Linked DNA regions of Homo sapiens: regions 1, 2 and 4 are each linked to region 3. The links are contacts of gene promoters, found by promoter capture Hi-C in blood cells and fetal thymus (Javierre and others, 2016). All regions are on one chromosome and are shown on one strand. Each heading gives the region's core, a stretch centred on a gene start or on the middle of the fragment in contact. The rest is flanking DNA. Distances are from core to core; before and after follow the strand shown. Region 1 overlaps LHPP (phospholysine phosphohistidine inorganic pyrophosphate phosphatase). Region 2 overlaps LHPP (phospholysine phosphohistidine inorganic pyrophosphate phosphatase). Region 3 holds the start of ZRANB1 (zinc finger RANBP2-type containing 1). Region 4 overlaps LHPP (phospholysine phosphohistidine inorganic pyrophosphate phosphatase).

Region 1 (2,700 bases), core at 175-2,674, 450 kb after region 3:
GACAGAGATGGACACCCACAGATGGGAGAGATACCCACAGACAGAGAGAGATACCCACAGATGGCGAAAGACACCCACAGACAGAGAGAGACACCCACAGACAGACAGCCATAGAGAGAAAGAGACACCCACAGATGGAGTGCTGTCCCCCTGGTGCCAGTGAGAAAGCTGAGGCTGGGAATGGGTCAGCAACCGAATTTCAGTTTACAGGCGTATTTGGTCGTGGACATGGTCAGCCACCTCAGTAAAACTGGTGAGGGTTATTTTGCATTGAATAAACTTATAAGCAGAAAAAAAAAAAAAGAAAAAAATTACAAGAGGTTGGGGGCGGTGGCTCATGCCTGTAATCCCAGCACTTTGGGAGGCCAAGGCGGGCGGATCACAAGGTCAGGAGATTGAGACCATCCTGGCCAACATGGTGAAACCCCGCCTCTACCAAAAATATAAAAATTAGCTGGGATGGTGGCGGGCGCCTGTAGTCCCAGCTACTCAGGAGGCTGAGGCAGGAGAATCGCTTGAACCCGGGAGGGAGAGGTTGCAGCGAGCCGAGATCACGCCGCTGCACTCCAGCCTGGGTGACAGAGCGAGACTCAGTCTTAAAAAATATATATATATACAAGATAGCCACACCATAGATAACCATGCCCCAAGACATATCCATTTGCTGCATGCTAAGTCAGTCACAAATATTGTTTGGTGAACAATAAAAAACAGATGACAAAACAAGGTCAAGTGTGACATCGATGCTGTGAACATCTCCATCCATAATAGTCTATTCGCACAGGAAGCCACTTGCAAGGACATACACCAAAATAGGGACAGGTGTTTTCCTCGTGCAGTGGGACTAAAAATACTTTCTGGTTTCTTCTTTTGCTCATCTGTATTGTCTAATTTTTCTTCAATGAACATGTGCTATCTCAGTGTAAGAAAAATGTTAAAAATAACCAACACTGTTTTGTTTAAGAAAGAGATGGCAAGGCATGTGCTAAAGGCTCAGACAAAACACTGATCACAAAATCACAACTTCACAGAGACAGTGATCTGTGGCCAGAGACTGTCGGTGCCCAGACTGGGTAGGCCCTCAAGCCTATGTTTTACTAATTAGACAACCCTTGAGAGCATTCTCCAACACCCTGCTACATCCTATGCAAATGCACCTTCTCCTTCTTTGCTCTAAACTTGGGACAATCAACACTTGGCCTCTGAGATCTCCAGAGGGTCTCCCTCTGCAATGACGCCCTCTTCTAGTCTAGACTCCACATGGAAGCTTGATCAACCAGCTCCTGAAGACAGTGTTCCTATTTCCTAAAGAAATGATTAAAGGAGAGGAATAAAGAAATGAAGAGAGAAAGCATGAAAAAGGGAGGGAAAAGAAGATCACCGGTGCTCCTCCCACCTCCCCTTCTGCATCCTTCTCTGCCTGATTCCGCAAGTTGGAGACTGGCACAGCATCATCTAAAGCACCGAGAAATGACTCTCCCTGGAGCCAACTTACCCTTTTCCCAGTGATATGAGCACAGGTTTTTCCAGCTCCATGAGCACCTGGAAGGCGTTATTCATGTTTTGATAAGAAAAGCTTTCTCCTGCGTCTGCAATTACCACACAGTTTGGGTTGGATGTGTCGATCTGATCAAATTCTGAGCGGACTCCTGGAAAGAGAGAGAGAGACAGAGTGCCACGGAGCCCTGGGAGGACATGGCCTACCTCCCCATCTCCTACCAGGGACACCTTTCACATGTCCTCCCCCTTTCTCAGATGCATTTCTTTCTGATCATCACAGCTGCCATGGGAGGTAGACACAGAAGGGTTATTCCTATTTGACAGAGGAGGGAATTCGGCTCCTCAGAGAGGGCTTATGAGGAGAAAGGTGGACACACCCAGGACCCTCCATCCCAATACCACATCAGCCCCAGGAGCTCCCTGAGGTCACTATCGCAGGCAGGAAACCCACAGCTTTGCTACTGAGAAGGGAAATCTGCTCAGAAGACACTGAGAGCCTGCAGCAGGAGGAAATGGGGCTGCACAAGCCTTGGAGGGTTGGCACTACTGGTCCCAAACTGTAAGAACCGTTGACACATTTCAGGCAACCCCACACATATGTCCTGAAGAAAAAGCAGAATTCCATCCCCACAGGTCCAGTTCACCAGCTCCCTTAGGAAACTCTCTTCCTCCTTCTCCTTCTTTGTCTTCCCCCATTTTAAATTAAAATAGGAAAATTTGCAAGGATACATCAAATCATTGGATCTGTGTTTTCAGATCCTAGAAGAAACATGCTGTCATCTCTCTTAGGACTAGATGTTGACCTTTCTAAATTGAAAAGAAACTGAGGCCAGGTGCGGTGGCTCATGCCTGTAATCCCAGCACTTTGGGAGGTCAAGGTGGGCGGATCGCCTGAGTTCAGGAGTTCGAGACCAGCCTGGCCAACATGGTCAAAATCCCATCTCTACTAAAAATACAACAATCAGCCCGGCACGGTGGCGGCCGCCTGTAATCTCAGCTACTCAGGAGTCTGAGGCAGTAGAATCACTTGAACCCGAGAGGCAGAGGTTGCAGTGGGCTGAGATTGCACCACTGTATTCCAGCCTGGGCAACAGAGCGAGACTCTGTCTCAAAAAAAAAAAAAAAAAAGAAAGAAAGAAACTGAAATACACAATGAGATACGATTTCATACCCACCAGAATGGTGAGAATTAAAAAGACT
Region 2 (2,700 bases), core at 151-2,650, 420 kb after region 3:
CAAATGGGAACCGTTAGGGAAATATGCCATACGGGAGCCACCACCATGGCGGGCCCTCACTCTAGGGGCCGAGCTTAACCCTCCCCTGTTCAGCCCACACAGCTGGGGCTCAGCCCCACTTGACACATGAGGAAACCCAGAGCCAAGCAAGGCAAAAAGATCATGCTCAAGCCGGGTAATCCCAGCACTTTGGGAGGCCAAGGCGGGGAGATCACTTGAGCCCAGGAGGCTGGGCAACACAGGGAGACTCCATCTTTATAAAAAATTTAAAAATTAGTTGGGCGTGGTGGCATAAACCTGTTTCCCAGCTATTTGGGAGGCTGAGGCGGGAGAATCACTTGTGCCCAGGAGTTCCAGGCTGCAGTGGGCCATGATGGTGCCACTGCACTCCCACCTAGGAAACAGAACAAGACCGCATCTCAAAAAGAAAAAAACAAAAAAAAAAAAGCACAAAGAGATCACGTCCAAGGTTACATGGTTAGCACGCGGCAGGGGACTGGGTCTCATACCCAGATTCTGGCAGTGCTCTTGGGGTCTCCGGGCAGCTGGACTCCCCCTCTGGAGGGTGGGGCTGGGCTTTTCTGTCTCCCTGCTGCTCTGGTTTCAGCCCCCGGGCTCATGAAAAGTCAGGGAGAGCACCCGGGGCTACCAGGCTGGGCCTGGGCAAAGGGCACCCCAGCCTGGAACTACGTTTGGAGCTGGAGTAGGGGGCCTTGTCCCTGGCTGTCCCCAACCTGAGGACAGTGGAGCTAGAGGAGCACACCGGGTTCACATCCTGGGACCCACCCATGACACAGAGGAACCTGTGCACAAATAAAACCACTGCTGCAAGATGGTTGAAAATAAGAACTGCGTCCAGCTGTGCCTGCAAGGACAGGAGTCAGGGGCCTCTGAGCCCCCTTTCCTTCCTTCTTCACTTTTCCAGGCTGGAAAAGATGTAGCAATCAAAGGGTCAAAAATGCAGATTCCCTGATGCATCAGAACACAGCAGCAATGGTGAATGCTGTGGGGGATGTGCCCTCCCCTGCCCCTGGGCTGTAAGCGCCACCAGCCCTGGCCGTGTCCCCGAGCCGCAGAGCAGCAGCGGAAAGGCAGAGGCCAGCCCTGTGGGCAGCGAGAGGGCTCAGGTGAGACTCCAGGTCTCAGAGGGGCTCTGTGGCGGGCAGGCTCTGGCAGCCCTGGGGGCATCCAGCAGAGCCCAAGTGGCCCAGGTTCATGTTAAGGTTAGAGAACATTTTGGGCAGGTGGCCGGCCTGGCTAGGACGGTGGCCACAGCTCCTGCTGCAAGTTCACTGCGGGCCCCTTCTTCCCCTGCTTGCTGCGGCCTGGCCACGGCTTCCCAGATCTGCCTGGGTCCCCTCCCCACCTCCCCACCACACACTGGAGGGGAAGAGAGCGCTTGGGTTCAGCGGACTTTAACCACAAAGGCAGCAACGATGGGACTTCTGGGGCTGTCACCTGTCACATCTCCGCCAGGCTCTCAGGTGGGTGGGTGGGGTCTAATGACCAACTTCAGGGCCTGCCCTAGGTCAGAAGCCCCCAGAGCCAGGTCCTGCTTATGTCCAGCTCAGCAGCAGGTCGTGTGTGTGTGGAGGGGGCCAAAGCGGGGGAGGGCGGGAGCTGACCAGTCCTGTGAGCCCCCACACTGGCTACTATTGTTTTGTGAGGCCCGGCCCCTGCTCAGAGCTCCAGCAACACTTGGCTAATTGGGGGGTGGCTTGAGAATGTTCAGGGGCACAGGCCTTGGAGTCAGGCAGAGGTGGGTTCGAATCCCGATTCTGACACTGGTAGGCTGTGTGGCCTTGGGCAAGTTACTTCACCTCTCTGAGCTTCCATTTGCAAATCTAAATGGTAGGGGTAAGAAGGCGGGTGGCTTCTCTGGGCTGTTGCAGGGTGTAGACGAGCTGAGGCTGAGTGTGTGTAAGCATGAGCACTGGCCCCGCCATGAGGCATACCTGCGTTATCCCCCTTCCAGCTCCTGGGGAACGCGCTTCAGGGAGTGTCTTGGGAGAAGAGCACGTGTGAGCACCAGGTCCAGAGCACGTGCCTTGCAACACGTGTTGAGCGGCTCTAGGGAGAAGAGAGGGCCCTGCTGACGCTCCCTCAATCCCTGTCCCACCACTCCAGCGCCTTCCAGGACCCTCGAGGGACCTGCACGTTCCCAAGAGGCAAATTCCTGGGGTTGGGAGGCTGCCTACAGGGGTCCTACCTTCTGGGCCAACCCCCAGGCCTTGTGGCCTCACTCTGCAGCCACCTCCCGGCCTCCACCTGGGACCCCCTTCCTCAGCTCAGAGCCCCCCAGCCCTCAGCCCACCGGTTTTCCCACAGGCGGCACCAAGCCCAGCAGGGGGGTTCAGGTTTTAACATCTTTCCCCTCTTGCCCTGGACATGAAGCAGCCTTGCTCAGGAACCAAGAATGCTAATGAGGGTCAGTACCAGAGAGGGTGACTGTTCCCAATCCTGTCTCCCCTGCCCCAGCAGCCAACAGAAGGCAGGAAACCCAGCAGAGGAGGAAGCTGATGCTGCCCCAACCAAAGCCATGGGGGCCACGATGGGGTGTCTGCCCCTGGAAACCCCATGTTCACCTGCTGAGCCATGTGGACCCCACCAGCCTCCTTTCACACACTCGCCTCCGCCTCGGGTCTCCTCCCCACTCTCTCAGGAGGCCCAGCGTCCGGGACTGCCACATGCTGACAATGT
Region 3 (2,700 bases), core at 114-2,613:
CCCAAGCTGGAGTGCAAGTGCTATTCACAGACCGATCATGGCATACTACAGCCTCAAACTCCTGGTTTCAAGCAAGTGGCTAAGACCACAAACGTGTGTCAGCGCACCCAGCTCTTTTCATATCATTTTTACTACCTTTTCCCATCCCACGCAAAAAATGCAGAATACAGAAACTTACCCACACAAGCATTGAGGAAGAGCCAATCAGTCTTTTTCATCCTGTTTTTAATTTGCTTTAGTTTTTTAAAGTCTACTTCAAGTTCCTCCTTGCTTCCCACAGCACCAGCCAATTCAATCCTCTGAAAATCCATTTTCACTTCAGAGTCCCGCTTCGTAGCAGGAGGTGATCTCCTTTGGCTATTACCACTACTGCAACTTCCCCTCCATCGAGCTCTGTCTTGCTCATTTATTATTGAAGAAGCCTCTTCAGTCTCTGCCAATTCTATTGCTTCAATGTTATTAGGTCTGGGATGATCACAAACAACACATCTTTTAGCCTTGGCCCAGTTTTCATATGTGCAAACAGAGCAAGTCCAGTGCTGTGTCCTAGTGTTCAGTTTATTTCTATCATTGTATTCCTCACAAGGATCAACAGAAAAAGCAACTGGTCTTGAGCCAGATCCTGAGGACTGAGGAGATTCTGTAGGACTCCTGGTCCTACGTTGGGATAAGCACTGGGTACATCTGATTGCTCTTGGCCAGTTCAAATATGTACACATGTGGCATGACCACTTATTTGCATTTTCCATGCTATACGAAGATTTCACCCTTGGTCTTGCACTAGAGTCTGGACATATCAAAGGACTACTTCCTCCTTCGGTGCTGGAAGGATCCCAATCTCTACCAACATCACTTGAACCACTTTTAAATGGATCTTCTGTAATAATTGTTCCACTAGGTCTTTGGGCACGACACATAGTACACTTGATTGCAGATGGCCAGTTTTCATACGTACAATATTCACAAGCCCACTTAATTCCACGTTCTGACATTGTGCACTTCTTGAAGTGAGCTGTGTCAGGCAGGAAGCTATAAATAATTAGGACATGGTTATTAAAATAACTACATTCCACCTCCAAAAATACGCTGCCCAAAAAGCAAGTCCTTCAACCTACAAAATATAAATTTCTCAAAAGATGCATGCAACATTTCGACATTGAATTATCCTAATTTTCTTTTTTAATTTCCATAGAAACACTGGAGATAAATTCTCAAAGAAAAAATCTTAGACCCTGGGATTTAATAAAACTGAACTTTGGAATGCAAAAGAGATAGGCAGGAGATATAACGAGGTTTGATCTAAGAAGGATGAGATTAACGGGAAGCCACTAATAGAAATGTTTAATTTCAGGGAGGCCATCACATCAATTTAGAAAAGTAACCAATAGTTTAAAGAGACAAAGGTAGAGGAAACAACACAAACTAAAAAATAGCTTAAACACATAACCATTCTCAAATTATGAACACAGATTATGATTCATGAATTCAGAAGATCAAGCAACGTCTATTTTATCATTCTCGCTAAGGGAGAAAAGCAACTTAAAATGCTAATTATCCACTGTTCTTAATTAGCACAGGTAGTAAAGAAACATGTTGAGAAGTAATGGCTACAATTAACAAAGTAACATTATGAAATAGGTAGTTCCTTGATAATCTGTAGCCTCAAAATCTAGTTCTATCTGGAGTAAAAAAAAGAAGACTGTACTGGGGAAAATTAAATCTGTGGAAGGTCACTGAAATAACCAGTAGCATAATCATTCCAATATAATTGTGAATGTTCATAATTAAAATATTTTAAATTTTGAATATTTAAAATATACTCAAAATCTAATTCATGGCCGGGGGCAGTAGCTCAAGCCTATAATCCCAGCATTTTGGGAGGCTGAGGCGGGTAGATCACAAGGTCAGGAGTTCAAGACCAGCCTGGCCAAGATGGTAAAGCCCCGTCTCTATAAAAATACAAAAATTAGCCGTGCATGGTGGTAGGTGCCTGTAATCCCAGCTACTCAGGAGGCTGAGGCAGAGAACTGCTTGAACCCGGCAGGCAGAGGTTGCAGTGAGCTAAGATCGCACCACTGCACTCTAGCCTGGGTGACAGAGTGAGACTCCATCCCCTGCCCCCCAAAAAATCCAATTCATATTTAAAAGATATTCACACTACTTAAAAGATTTCTAGGATTCAACAATGGGCTAACACTACACTATAATGAAGAAAGACTTCATAATTTAATGGCAACTAATTCATAAATGAAGCAACTTACATAACAAATTTAATTTTTTTTTTTTTAATGGCTTGAATTTAGACACTGGCCACTTTTCCTAAATACTTTTATCAACTCAGTATCATCCCAACACCTATTTTTCACCCGGAAAGAGAAAGAAATCCTAGGCAGAGTATAGAAGCTTTGCTCTCTCTTTCTCAGGGATTTTTCCTGAACCTAGAGGGTTAAATCTTTTGTTTGTTTGTTTTTTTGTTGTTGTTGTTTTCATTTTTGTTTTTTTGAGATGGAGTCTTGCTATGTTTTGCCCAGGCTGGAATGCAGTGGAGTGGTGCAATCTAAGCTCACTGCAACCTCCACCTCCCAGGTTCAAGCGATTCTCCTGCCTCAGCCTCCCAAGTAGCCGAGATTACAGGTGCATGCCACCATGCCCGGCTAATTTTTGTATTTTTAGTAGAGATAGGGTTTCAGCATCTTGGCC
Region 4 (2,700 bases), core at 51-2,550, 440 kb after region 3:
CCCACCTGAAATCCTGTCTACCCCTACACCTGAAATCCTCCCTACCCCCCTCACCTGAAATCCTGTCTACCCCCCGACCTGAAATCCTCCCTACCCCCCTCACCTGAAATCCTGTCTACCCGCCCACCTGAAATCCTCCCTACCCCCCCACCTGAAATCCTGTCTACCCCCCAACCTGAAATCCTCCCTACCCCCCAACCTGAAATCCTGTCTACCTCTCCACCTGAAATCCTCCCTACCCCCTACCTGAAATCCTCCCTACCCCCCCACCTGAAATCCTCCCTACCCCCCCCAACCTGAAATCCTCCTTACCCACCCCACTTGAAATCTTCCCTACCCCCCAACCTGAAATCCTCCTTACCCACCCCACTTGAAATCTTCCCTACCCGCCAACCTGAAATCTTCCCTACCCCCCAACCTGAAATCCTCCCTACCCTCCCCACCTCCCTAAGAAATTCTGCTGCACCGCTGGTCCTCCCTGAGAGTTGGGCTATGGCAAAGAGCACTGGACGGGGCTGGAAGACGATGGTTTGGTGCCTGGCTTCACTCCTCATTGGCAAAGTAATCTTGGGTTCAGTACTAGAGTTCTCCGTAACCGTTCTCTTAATACCGCTTAATGCTGCGGTTCTCCCCAGGGCACATCTGGCAATGTCTACAGACAATTTTGGTTTCACAGCTTGGGAAGGGGGTGGTCCCATGTAGTGGGCGGACAGTGGGATGCTGTTTAGCACCCTACAATGCATAGGACATCCCCTCACCACAAAATGACCCAGTCCAAAAACACCAAGTGTCGAGGTTGAGAAACCGCGGGGTGGGGGGGGGGTTTGTTGTTTTTTTTGAGACAAGGTCTTACTCTCTTGTCCAGCCTAGAGTACAGTGGTACCATCTTGGCTCACTGCAACCCCTGCCTCCCAGATTCAAGCGAATCTCGTGCGTCAGCTTCCTGAGCAGCTGGGACCACAGGCATGTGCCAGCCACCATGCCCAGTTAATTTTTGTATTTTTTTGTAGAGACAGGGTTTCACCATGTTACCCAGGCTGGTCTCGAACTCCTGGGCTCGTGATCCACCCACCTCGGCCTCCCAAAGTGCTGGGATTACAGGTGTGAGCAACTGCGCCCAGCCTGAGAAATCCTGTCTTAACCTCATGGTGGGAATGCAAAGCGCCTATGACAAGGTGTTTCATCTCTAAGCTTCAGGCTCCTCACCTGTGAAACGGGCCCCTCCAGGCGAGGGTTCTTGGCTGTCACATATAACTAAGTGCTCTGGTTTGAACAGTCTCAATCTCCACTAAACCTGCAGGATTTGCATCCCACAGAACTTCTTATGATGATGGAGAACTGCCAAAACCTTCACATCACTTGGGTGCTCATATGAAGCTATAAAACCATCCACTGATTCAGAAGCTTAAACCGTGAGAATTAGATATTTCTAGAAGTAACCTTTAAGGTATGTTATTCTTTGCCTTATTACTGAATCCTAGAAAGGGCCAGGTTGCCTCTAAGAGGTTTGAATTTCCAATCTATTAGCATAATACCAGCAATCTGTGATTTCTAGGCCACTGAGGAAAGGTTAAAATGAAAATTGGATTTGGGGAGTTATATCTATTCTGAGTGCAGACTGAAAACTCAGCAGCAAGAAGCAGGTCAGGGTCTCGGGAAGCAGCAGTGATCAAGGGAAATGACTGGTGATAACTTTATTGATTAAAGCAGCTGGAAAAATTTAAGGTTTGCCACAGCCTGGCATTCAGCAGCAAGAGAGGTCCTTGCAGGCATTTTTCATTAAAAATAAAAAAGCCAGGAACAGAGAATTATTACCCTGTGCATAAGACACAGTTCATTTGAAATGGCCTTATCTTGAAATACAGCTTTAAAATGTCTACACATCCTGAGAGTCAAATAACGTTAGTGAGCATTTTAGGAAAATGGCAGGGTGGGGACGTTCGGAACATGCAGCTGCTACTCCACTGTCAAGGGGACAGGCAGAAATGTCATATGAGGGTAGGAGAGGATGATGATGTGGGAGGTAAATAAGACACAGCTTTGCCACATATGCTCGGAGCCACCAGAGGAAACAAGTCTTTCGCTCTCCAGGGCCACAGATGCTCAGGGTGGATGGCAGCGGCAGGGACCAAAGCCTCAAGCAGCCACGGTGACCCACCAGGAATCCACAGCCCCGCTCCCTCCCAGACGCACTGCCCCAGCATCCGAAAACGACAAACCCAGATTCACCAGACCCCCATGAGGGGTCTTCTTTCGGCGGTGAGGTGGGCTGTATCTCATTCGAAATGTGAAGGAAGCTGACTGTGAAAATAACTGAAAATGCCACAAGAAAAAGGCAGGGAGACCACCCAAGGTCAGACCATCCAAATATCACCAGCAATGCCATCTGGACAGCCAGTCTCGTCTCCTCCCCTCTCTTCCCTTCCCCTTCCCTCCTTCCTTCCTTCTTTCCTTCCTTCCTTCTTGCTTTCCTATTTTTTTTTTTTTGAGACAGGGTCTCGCTCAGTTGCCCAGGCTGGAGTGCAGTGGTGCAATCTCAGCTTGCTGCAACCTCAACCTCCTGGGCCCAAGCAATCTGCCCACCTCAGCCCCCCAAGTAGCTGGAACCATAGGCACATGCAACCACATCTGCCTTTTTTTTTTTTTTGCATTTTTTCTGTAGAGACGGGGTTTTTCCGTGTTGCCCAGGCTGGTCTCAAA

What was found. The method cuts DNA at HindIII sites, captures the fragments that hold promoters and counts their contacts. A CHiCAGO score of 5 or more calls a contact.
Region 1: a fragment that was not itself captured here is called in contact with the fragment with the promoter of ZRANB1 in region 3 in 3 of 17 cell types (fetal thymus, total CD8 T cells and activated CD4 T cells); the score reaches 5.9 in fetal thymus.
Region 2: a fragment that was not itself captured here is called in contact with the fragment with the promoter of ZRANB1 in region 3 in 8 of 17 cell types (M1 macrophages, erythroblasts, M0 macrophages and 5 more); the score reaches 8.9 in M1 macrophages.
Region 4: a contact is called between a fragment that was not itself captured here and the fragment with the promoter of ZRANB1 in region 3, in 1 of 17 cell types (total CD8 T cells). The highest score is 7.4, in total CD8 T cells.

The regions. Positions count from the first base shown.
Region 1 is chr10:124,487,371-124,490,070 of GRCh38, reverse strand. It overlaps LHPP (phospholysine phosphohistidine inorganic pyrophosphate phosphatase), which reads right to left. Exons shown (of 7, transcript NM_022126.4): 3 at 1,496-1,649. Among named protein-coding and RNA genes, the nearest start is that of LHPP, 27 kb to the right of the region's middle. The HindIII fragment of the contact is 309 bases long and covers 1,270-1,578 here.
Region 2 is chr10:124,525,520-124,528,219 of GRCh38, reverse strand. All of the region lies in intron 6 of LHPP (phospholysine phosphohistidine inorganic pyrophosphate phosphatase), which reads right to left. Among named protein-coding and RNA genes, the nearest start is that of LHPP, 65 kb to the right of the region's middle. RefSeq lists an enhancer at 1-34. The HindIII fragment of the contact is 9,266 bases long and covers 1-2,700 here.
Region 3 is chr10:124,940,786-124,943,485 of GRCh38, reverse strand. ZRANB1 (zinc finger RANBP2-type containing 1) reads right to left here and starts at 1,363. Exons shown (of 9, transcript NM_017580.3): 1 at 179-1,363. The coding sequence starts at 992. The HindIII fragment of the contact is 2,790 bases long and covers 1-2,405 here.
Region 4 is chr10:124,504,387-124,507,086 of GRCh38, reverse strand. The region is part of intron 5 of LHPP (phospholysine phosphohistidine inorganic pyrophosphate phosphatase); the gene reads right to left. Among named protein-coding and RNA genes, the nearest start is that of LHPP, 44 kb to the right of the region's middle. The HindIII fragment of the contact is 213 bases long and covers 1,194-1,406 here.